Linked DNA regions of Homo sapiens: region 1 is linked to region 2. Evidence: promoter capture Hi-C in 16 types of primary human blood cells and fetal thymus (Javierre and others, 2016). All regions are on one chromosome and are shown on one strand. The core of a region is centred on a gene start or on the middle of the fragment in contact, and the rest is flanking DNA. Distances in the headings are between cores, read along the strand shown.

Region 1 (5,038 bases), core at 736-3,235, 200 kb before region 2:
CACCTGTAATCCCAGAATTTTGGGGGGCTGAGGTGGGAGGATTGCTTGAGGCTGGGAGCTCCAGACCAGCCTGGGCAATATAGTGAGACCCCATCTCTACAAAAATAAAAAATAAAATTAGCCAGGCACGATGGTGCATGTCTGTGGTCTTAGCTACTCAGGAGGATCATTTGAGCCCAGGAGGTCAAGGCTGCAGTGAGGTACAATTGTGCCACTGCACTCTAGCCTGGGTGACAAAGCAAGACCCTGCCTCCCCCTTCTCCCCCCAAAAAGAGAAGAGCTAAGGAGAAACAGGCAAGAAAGGTGTGTGCACAAAAGTTTGTATAGGGCAGCCAGAAAAGTCCTCACTGAAGGAATCGCTGAGGAGGGGAGGAAGCAGGCCATTTTCGGTATTGGGGGAAGAGGGACTCGCAGGTGCCAAGGGCATGATGGAAGAGCAGAGAGGATGGTGCGAAGGCTGGCTCAGCAGGCACCAGGTGGAGTGACAGGATGAGGTTCGGCAGTGGGGTCTGTAGAGGGCTCACAGGCCATTTTTGAGAGCTTTCGCTTTTACTTTGCAGGGTTTTGAGAGGAGTATCGTTACCTGATTTCCATCTTATCGGGAGCATTCTAGCTTCAGGGACCTGGCAAGAGAGGATGATGGCTTGGACCTGGGTGGTGGCGCTGGGGATGGTGAAGAAGTGGTTGGATTCTGGATATATTTTGAAGGAGGAGCCAGTAGTGGGGAAAGGTTCCAATTCAGGCGATTTTACATAAAAATCTAGATACGCAGCAGGCACTCACTTATGGCAAGGGTGGGCTTGTCTGAGGGTGGCTTCTGGTTTTGGTGGTTTGGATGTGAGAGAAGGGAAGGAATGAAGGATGACACCAAGGAGTCTACTAGAGTTTGTTCCAAAATGGCTGTTCTGGCCGCGTGCGGTGGCTCCCAGGACTTTGGGAGGCCGAAGCAGGCGGATCAGTTGGGGCCAGGAGTTCGAGACCTGCCTGGCCACCATGGTGAAACCCGGTCTCTACTAAAAATACAAAAATTAGCTGGGTGTGGTGGCAGGCGCCTGTAGTCCCAGCTACTCAGGGGCTGAGGCAGGAGAATTGCCTGAACCCAGGAGGTGGAGCTTGCAGTGAGCCGAGATCACGCCACTGCCCTCCAGTGTAGGCGACAGAGTGAGACTCTGTCTCAATACATACATACATACATACATACATACATGCATGCATACATACATACATACATACATAAAATATACAAAGTTGCTGTCCTGCCTTCTTGAGCCCCCAGGAATTGGAACCTTTCCCCACTCTCTGATCTTTTGCTGGGACATGCTGACTGAGCAGCCTTTCTGCTGAGAGCATGGGTAGGAATGTGGAGGGAGCAGTTATGCCTGGGGCTGGCTGCCTGCGGCTGGACCTCTAGCCTCCTGCTGGGAGCAGCAAGAAGCCAGGGATGTGTTTTGAAATCCTTACTTGGTATTGGGTGCTAGGAGCCCCAGACAGGGAGGAGAGTCAGCCTAACGTGCCTCTGGTGACTGGTGTAATTCCATCCTGCACTCTCGCCAAGAGGACAGTGTTTGTGCAATGCATCAGCTGAAGATTCGTGGTGGCTGTCACTTCGGAGGTTTTCAGGGAGGCCTAGCTGCTGCTCTGTGTATTTCAGGTAGCTTGTCACCACTTATCTCTCAGAGAAGGGCAGACCATGGCTGTATCTCCACCATACAGGCTGAACAGCAGACAGGGGTCTCAAACTCCAGTGCCCTGGGCCACACTGGAGGGCACTTGGCTGTCATGGAGTGAAGGGAGAGGCCGCCTTCAGCCCAGCCCATCCTTGCCATGAGTGAGTGCCTGCTGCATTTCTAGATTTTTATATAAAATCTCCTGATTTTTTTTGACTGGTTTAAATTTTTATTATTTTGGTAAAAAACGTATAAAACTTACCATCTTAGTCATTGTTCAGTGTACAGTATTGTTAAGTACATTCGCACTGTTGTGCAGACATTACCACCATCCATCACCAGAACTTTGTCACCTTGCAAAACCGAAACTCTCTACCCATGAAACAATACCTCCCCACTTCCCGTCCCCAGTCCCTGGCAGCCACCTTTTTACTTTCTGTTTCTATGAATTTGACTATTCTAGGTACCTCATGTAAGTAGAAGCATATAGTATTTGTCTTTTGTGACTGGTTTATTTCACTTAGTTAGCATAATGCCCCCCAGGTTCATCCACTTTGTAGCAGGTGTCAGAATTTCCCTTCTTTTCAAGGCTGAATCATATTCCATTGTATGTAGATAACAGTAGTCCCCCTTATCCTTGGAGGATGCATTTCAAGATCCCCAGTGGATACCTGAAACTGCAAAGCCTGTAGATACTATGTTTTTTTCCTATACATACAGATCTATGATAAAGTTTAATTTATGAATTAGGAACAGTAAGAGATTAGCAATAATAACTAGTAATAAAATAGAACAATTATAACAATATACTGTAATGAAAGTTACATGAATGTGATCTCTTAAAATATCTTACTGTACTGTACTCACCTATTTTCAGACTATGGTTGACTGTGGGTAACTGACACCACAGGTAACTGACGTCATGGAAATAAAACCTTTGATAAGGGGGGACTGTATCACATTGTCTTTATCCATTCATCTGTGATGGACACGTGGGTTGCTTCTATCTTTTGCTGTTGTGAACATTGCTGCTATGAATGTGGGCATACATATATCTCTTTCAGACCCCGCTTTCGATATTTTTGGATGTATATACAGAAGCAGAATTGCTGGATCATATAGTAATTCTTGTCCTTTTCTTTTCTTTTTTTTTTTCGAGACGGAGTCTTGCTCTCTTTCGCCCATGCTGGAGTGCAGTGGCGCGATCTCAGCTCACTGCAAGCTCCGCCTCCCGGGTTCATGCCATTCTCCTGCCTCAGCCTCCCCAGTAGCTGGGACTACAGGCGCCTGCCACCACGCCTGGCTAATTTTTTGTATTTTTAGTAGAGTCAGGGTTTCACTGTGTTAGCCAGGATGGTCTCGATCTTCTGACCTCGTGATCCACCCGCCTCAGCCTTCCACAGTGCTGGGATTACAGGTGCGAGCCACCGTGCCCGGCAGTAATTCTTTTCCTTTTAGCTAAGGAACACCCATACTGTTTTCCACAGCAGCTGCACCATTTCACATTCCCACCAACAGGGCACAAGAGTTCCAATTTCTCCACATCCTTGCTAGCACTTTATTTTCTGTTTTGTTTTTCTTTTCCTGATAGTAGCTCTCTTAGTGGTTGTGAGGGGATAGTGGGGTGATATCTCATTATGGTTTTGATTTGCATTTCCCTGATGATTAGTGATGTTGAGCATCTTTTCATGTGCTTGTTGGCCATTTGTATATCATCTTTGGACTTGAAATGTCTATTTAAGTCTTTTGTCCATTATATTTATTTATTTATTTTGAGATGGAGTCTTCCTGTTACCCAGGCTGGAGTGCAGTGGCATGATCTCTGCTCACTGCAACCTCCACCTCCTGGGTTCAAGCAATTCTCCTGCCTCAGCCTCCCAAATAGCTGGGACTACAGGTGTGTGTCACCACACCAGGCTAATTTTTTTTCTATTTTTAGTAGACACAGAGTTTCACCATTGTGGCCAGGCTGGTCTCGAACTCCTGACCTCAAGTGATCTGCCCTCTTCAGCCTTCCAAAGTGCTGGGATTACAGGCATGAGCCACGGTGCCCAGCCAGTCTTCTGTCCATTTTAACGTTGAGTTATTTGTTTTATTGTTGAGATTTACTGATTTTTAAAACTTGGTCACCAATTAAGATTTTTTTAAAAAACCAGTACCTGGAACAAGCAGAACAAGTCTCTGCTGGCCTTGGCTCATGTTGCTGTTCTCAGTTCCCCTGGGATGTTTGCTTCCAGGGAGGCCTGGGCACTCCTGACTTTGGTGACAGCCCTGCTTGCTCTCTCTCTGTTACCTGTAGGTTTCCCCTTCCACATTCACTGCCTCCGGGCAGGCACTGTTGTGTTTTAGGCATTTCAGTATCCCAGTGGGGTACTGGATAAGTGCTTAGTTAGCACCTGCCGGTGAGTAAATAATCAGGTCCTGTGGTCTCTGAGGGTTTGACACATCAGGTCTTTGATCTTGACCTTGAACTCTCCTAGCCATGCCTGCCTGAAGCCCAACCGTGGAGCCCAGGCTGAGGCTGAAACCTGAAGAACTGGCCCCAAGTGAGTCTCTCCTTAGGGCTCCTGATTATGATAGTTCATTTTTTTTTTTTTTTAACAAATTTGATTAGCTGTCCTCAAATTAACTCATAGGAGATGCTCCCCAGAACTAAACTAGCTCTGCAACAGCTCAACAGACTTTCCGCAGGTTCTGCAGCTCTTTCCACTCAAGCTTCAGAAAAAAGTGAAGGAATATTGTAGATTGGGTTCAAAATCCCCATCGCGTCTTGGGAAAGGCAGTAGAGCCAGCAGCCAGCCACCTTTTGTTCTCTAGGGAATGGAATAGTCCAAGGCTGTGTTTGTGTTCTGCTTCTCTACATCTGACCCACGGGTCTTCCAGAGGCTGCATTTGGGTCAGGGACCTGGGCTCTATCTTGCCTCTGATGCAGACCACACTCTCTGAGTCTCATTATTCCCCCTAAATGATCTCTAAGATTATTTTTAGATTAAAAAAAAAAAACAAACTCTTTGCATATCTTTGGAAAGTCAGTTGTTTGAGGTCTGTTAGGCTTTAATCACTTTTGTTTTAAATGTGCCGAGGTGGTTTCTAGGCCTGCTTTTCACAGGTATTCTGTCCCTTGTCAGTTCTTCCCACCCAGTTTTTTTTGTTTGTTTGTTTGTTTTTTTGAGATGGAGTCTCGTTCTGTTGCCCAGGCTGGAGTGCAGTGCCGTGATCTTGGCTTACTGCAACCTCCACCTCCCGGGTTCAAGCGATTCTCCTGCCTCAGCCTCCTCGGTAGCTGGGATTATAGGCACGTGCCACCATGCCTAATTTTTCTATTTTTAGTAGAGATGGGGTTTCACCATGTTGGCCAGGCTGGTCTTGAA
Region 2 (5,246 bases), core at 1,415-3,914:
AACCATTTGCCATATTTTAACAACGATTTTTCCATTAAATAATTCTTTTTATAAAAAAACTTTATATATCTGTTGATGTTTTGTGATTTTTATTGCTTCTAAGCTAATACAGATTTTTGGATCTTATTCAATTTCGCTTTCTTCTGTTTAGGTTATTATCTGGTTTTATACCTAACTACTTATTTTCAAATTGCTAACCAGTTATCCTAATAGTATTTACTGAATTCCTTCCCACTCCTACATCACATATTAAAATTATTTTATGCCTAAATTATTTATAATATTTCAGTTATTCTTCCTATAATTACAATTTGAACCATCAAAGTAGGTTTTCATAGTTGGCAGAGCTAGTTCTTCTTCATAATTCTGTTTCAGAATTTTCTTTGATATTCTTCCTCAACATTTTAAACATTTTGTCAAGTTTCAGTGCAACTGACTTTTGGTTTTTATTTATTTAAAAACTGGGCCATGCCGGGCGCAGTGGCTCACGCCTGTAATCCCAGCACTTCGGGAGACTGAGATGGGTGAATCACTTGAGGTCAGGAGTTTGAGACCAGACTGGCCAATGTGGTGAAACCCCATCTCTACTAAAAATACAAAAATTTGCTGGGCATGGTGGCATGTGCCTGTAATCCCAGCTACTGGGGAGGCTGAAGCAGGAGAATTGTTTGAACCCGGGAGACGGAGGTTGCAGTGAGCCAAGATTGTGCCACTGCACTCCAGCCTGGGCAACAGAGTGAGACTCCATCTCAAACAAACAAACAAACAAACAAACAAAAAACTGGACTAGGCGTGGTGGCGGTTTGGGAGACTGAGGCTGGAGGATTGCCTGAGGCCAGCAGTTTGAGGTTACAGTGAGGTATGACTGTGCCACTGCACTCCAACCTGGGTAAGACCCTATCTCTGAAAAACAAACAAGCAAACCCCAGAACTCTGGCTGCAAAAGTAGTACATATTTCTTTGAAGGAAAAAAAGGAAAACTTGATAATCCTACCACCCAAAGATGTTTTTAAATCACTTATGTGGTACTCAGTTATGTGCCATGCACTGTCCAAGTGCTTACAAATATTATACTAACTCCCTTTGTGTTTATAACAACTGTCTGAAGTCAGTAGACTCATTTTCCAGTTTTCCAGTTTAGGAAACTGATATTACACCTTTTCTACAGATGGGGAAACTTGCCCAGGGTGCCCAGGCAGTCCGCAGAACCATGCTTTGAATCAGGGCAGTGTGGTTCCAGGGTCCTGTACAGATCAAACACCCTGACTCTGCCATTCCATCAGATACATGATTCATATTTTGGTGTATTTGCCTCCAATCTTGAGCAAAGTGGGTTGTCCCTGTACATACTTTGTGTAATCTTTTAGCTTAACAGGTGTCATGAACACTTCCGTATCATAAATCTTTCCCAGCATGATTTTTATTATCTATTTAATATTTCTCATATTCAATGTAGAACAATGCACTTAACCAATTTCTCATTTTTGTAATAATTTTCTTCCCATTTTCCCCTGTAATAACACTGCTGAGATATATATTTTTTTCTTCTTTTTTTTACTGTTCTGAAGATACTCTGGCAGAAATGTATGTTCCTCAGGCTAAATCTTTTCACACATCCACAATCATTTTATCATAAATTCTAGAGCTGGAAACGCTGAGTCTAATGTTTTATATATATATATATATATGTTATATATCTGTCACCCAGGCTGGAGTGCAGTGTGGTGTGATCTCAGCTCACTGCAACCTCCGCCTCCCGGGTTCAAGCCATTCTCCTGCCTCAGTCTCCCAAGTATCTGGGACTACAGGCGCGCGCCACCACAACCGGCTAATTTTTGTAATTTTAGTAGAGGCGGGGTTTCACCTTGTTGGCCAGGCTGGTCTCGAACTGCTGACCTCAAGTGAGCCGCCCGCCTCGGCCTCCCAAAGTGCTGGGATTACAGGCGTGAGCCACCGCGCCCGGACTGTTATATATTTTAAAGGCTTCTGATCCATATCGCCAAACAGTCCTCTGGATCGATTTGCATCTGTATCCGCTGCTCCATCTGCAGTATACGGACATGCTCCACTTCACCCACACTGGGTCATTAAAAGAACAAACAAAAATAAGAACTTGATCGATTTGGGATTTTAAATGGAAATGCACTAAAAATTCCTTAATTCCACCATTCACCGTCTACCATAGAGGAACAGCCCATCTGCACGGAGAGACAGCTACGTAATTCACTGCAGCATTATAATACTGAAAAATTAAAATGAACGAAATGTTCCATAACCGACGAACGGCCGAATGACCGGCGTCTCCACTCCGCGGAACGTTCTGCGAGCGCTAAGGGGATGGCGGGAGTGCATGATTTGGAGCGGGCGGTGAGAAAAGCAAGCTCCCGCCGCCTCTCCGTTTTGGCAACCCGGCTGACGGTCGTTTCGGCTTCTGGGGCCAGCCGTCGGTCTGGGCGAGGGACATAGATCCGGATTCGCATCCTGACTGGCCAACCAACGCTGGCCGAGGTGACCACTCTCCTCGGCATCCGCACCTGCCCTCCAAGGCGTCAGAGAGGCCGGACCCTTGGGTGCTAGGGCTCGTGAGCGCCGGGGCCAAGTTTCCGAGTGCCGCTCTCAGCAGCGCACCAACCGGAAGTGATCGTGTTGTGGCGGAAGGAGGAGCTTTCTGGGAGTAGCCGGTGCTGAGAGAACCGTGGCTGGCAAAGATGATTCAGGCGATTCTGGTTTTCAACAACCATGGGAAGCCACGGCTAGTCCGCTTCTACCAGCGTTTCGTGAGTGCGGCCCGGCTTCACCACGCCCCTTCAGGGCGCCCACTATGTCTTCCCTCCTCTTTGGCCTCTCGGCGCCCGGGGGCACCGCTCTTTGGTCACCTGGGGCTCCTGCACCGAGCATGACCCTCGCCCTACTTAAGCATTTAATCTAGGCGCAGGCTGGTGCCAGGCCTTCTGTCTCCCGCCCTACTGCCCCGCTCTCGCTGACCCTTTTCTTGATCCTGGCATTTCTGTGCCATTTTGTGACATTTTCCCGTGGGTCTCTGGGAACGAGATAGAAGCGACAGTGGGGAGTGTGCCTCGATGAGAACTTGAGTGATTGAAGTCACATTCTGTCATCTTTTTGGTTGTTGACCACAGTTTCATGAGGAAGAAATATTAAGTTTCTGAAAGTTTTTGTTATAGCCAGAACTGGAAAAGTTCTTTTTTTTTTGGAATTATTTTGCTTCAGTGTTGGCTGGGACTTTCCAGAGACTAGATACCCTTCACTCTTAGGGTTGAAGAAAATCAGTTTAAAAGTGGAAAAATGATGAGAAATTATAAATGCTGCCGCATAAGGGCTCAATAAGTGATTACGTAAATTTGAATTTTCCCAACACGTTCCTTTGCAAACACATAAACATCAGTATTTGCTTCCTGTCTTCGAAGATTATATTTCTTCATGGCAGGGTTTCAAAATGTTACATAATTGGGGGACTGGTGGAACTGAAGAGGGGAAAGAGCCAGAAAACGTGTTCAGGCTTCAGCTCCACCTTTTCTACTCTTGCGTCTGTTGACAAGTTAATAAACCCTTTTCAGACTTTTATTGTCTTTTGTCAATTAGAAATGAAAAAATAATTTTACTCCTTCATAAGATTTTTAAAGCTAGATTACATTTTATTAAGTAGATTACATCGAGGTAAAAATATGAGTATTCAGGCCGGGCGCGGTGGCTCACGCCTGTAATCCCAGCACTTTGGGAGGCCGAGGCGGGCGGATCACGAGGTCAGGAGATGGAGACCATCCTGGCTAACACGGTGAAACCCCGTCTCTACTAAAAATACAAAAAATTAGCCAAGCGCGGTGGCGGGCACCTCCAAGTCCCAGCTACTCAGGAGGCTGAGGCAGGAGAATGGCGTGAGCCCGGGAGGCGGAGCTTGCAGTGAGCCAAGATAGCGCCACTGCACTCCAGCCTGGGCGAAAGAGCGAGACTCCATCACACACACACACAAAAAAGTATATATATATATGTATGTATATGAGTATTCAGCGTAACTATTTGTATTTGCATTTGTGTGTATGCAAATTTCCCCCCTAGTTTTTTTCTAACAGGGTTACTGAGATAAAACTAACATGCCATACTGTTTACTTATTTATTTTATGTTATTTACTTATAGAGACGGGGTCTTTCTATGTTGCCCAGGCTGGTCTTGAACTCCTGGGCTCAAGCAATCCACCGGACTCAGCCTCCCAAAGTGCTGGGATTACAGGCATGAGCCACTGTGTCCGGCCCCAGTTTACTTATTTAAAGGGGACAATTCAGTGTTTTTTAGCATGTTCACAGAAGCTGTGTAACCATCACCACAATCAATTTTAGATCATTTTCATCACCCCAAAAAGAAACCTCTGCCCATTAGCAGTCACTCCCTATTTCTCCATGACTCTCCCAGCCCCAGAGAGTTTCTTTCCCTCTAAATTTGCCAGTTCCAGAATGGCAAATGGAATTTGCCTATTCCGTTGCCTATAAATGGAATCATAAATAAGTGGTTTTTTGTGTGTCTGCCATGTTTCATGTAGTATAATGTTTTCAAGATTCATCCATGTTGTAGCATGTATCTGATGTTCTTCATTTCTTTTATTGCTGAATAATATTCCATTATATGGATATGCCATATTTTGATTGTCAATTTATAAGTTGATATTTCTGCTTTTTGGCTCTTCTAATTAATGCTGCTATGAACATTCTTGTGCAAGTTTTTATGTGGACTTATGACTTCATTTCTCTTGGTTATATACCTAGGAGTAGAATTGCTGGATCATATGGTAACTGTGGTGAACATTTTGAGAAACTGCAAACTATTTGACAAATTTTCCAAGTGGCTGCACCATTTTACATTTCCATCAGCAATGTATAATGATTCCAGTTTCTTCACATCCCTGCCATTCGTTATTTATTTATTTATTTTTGGTTAAAGACATTTTAGTGGGTGTAAAGTGGTATCTCACTGTGGCTTTTTTTTTTCCCTCCGAGACTGAATCTCACTCTATCTCCCAGGCTGCAGTGGCGTGATCTCGGTTCACTGTAACCTCTGCCTCCCGGGTTCAAGTGATTCTCCTGCCTCAGTCTCCTGAGTAGCTAGGATTACAGGTGCCCACGACCATGCCTGGCTAATTTTTGTATTTTTAGTAGAGATGGGGTTTCGCTGTGTTGGCCAGGCTGGTCTCGAACTCCTGACCACAAGTAATCTGCCCGTCTTGGCCTCCCAAAGT

The links. The method cuts DNA at HindIII sites, captures the fragments that hold promoters and counts their contacts. A CHiCAGO score of 5 or more calls a contact.
Region 1: a fragment that was not itself captured here is called in contact with the fragment with the promoter of AP3S2 in region 2 in 2 of 17 cell types (M0 macrophages and M1 macrophages); the score reaches 8.0 in M0 macrophages.

Annotation. Positions count from the first base shown.
Region 1 is chr15:90,094,701-90,099,738 of GRCh38, reverse strand. The region is part of intron 1 of IDH2 (isocitrate dehydrogenase (NADP(+)) 2); the gene reads left to right. Among named protein-coding and RNA genes, the nearest start is that of IDH2-DT, 4.9 kb to the left of the region's middle. RefSeq lists an enhancer at 3,789-4,313. The HindIII fragment of the contact is 4,798 bases long and covers 1-4,384 here.
Region 2 is chr15:89,891,412-89,896,657 of GRCh38, reverse strand. It overlaps AP3S2 (adaptor related protein complex 3 subunit sigma 2), which reads left to right and starts at 2,664. Exons shown (of 6, transcript NM_005829.5): 1 at 2,664-2,777. The coding sequence starts at 2,709. All of the region lies in intron 5 of ARPIN-AP3S2 (ARPIN-AP3S2 readthrough), which reads left to right. It overlaps ARPIN (actin related protein 2/3 complex inhibitor), which reads left to right. Exons shown (of 6, transcript NM_182616.4): 6 at 1-1,652. RefSeq lists enhancers at 1,382-2,129, 2,484-2,633, 3,626-4,375. The HindIII fragment of the contact is 43,116 bases long and covers 1-5,246 here.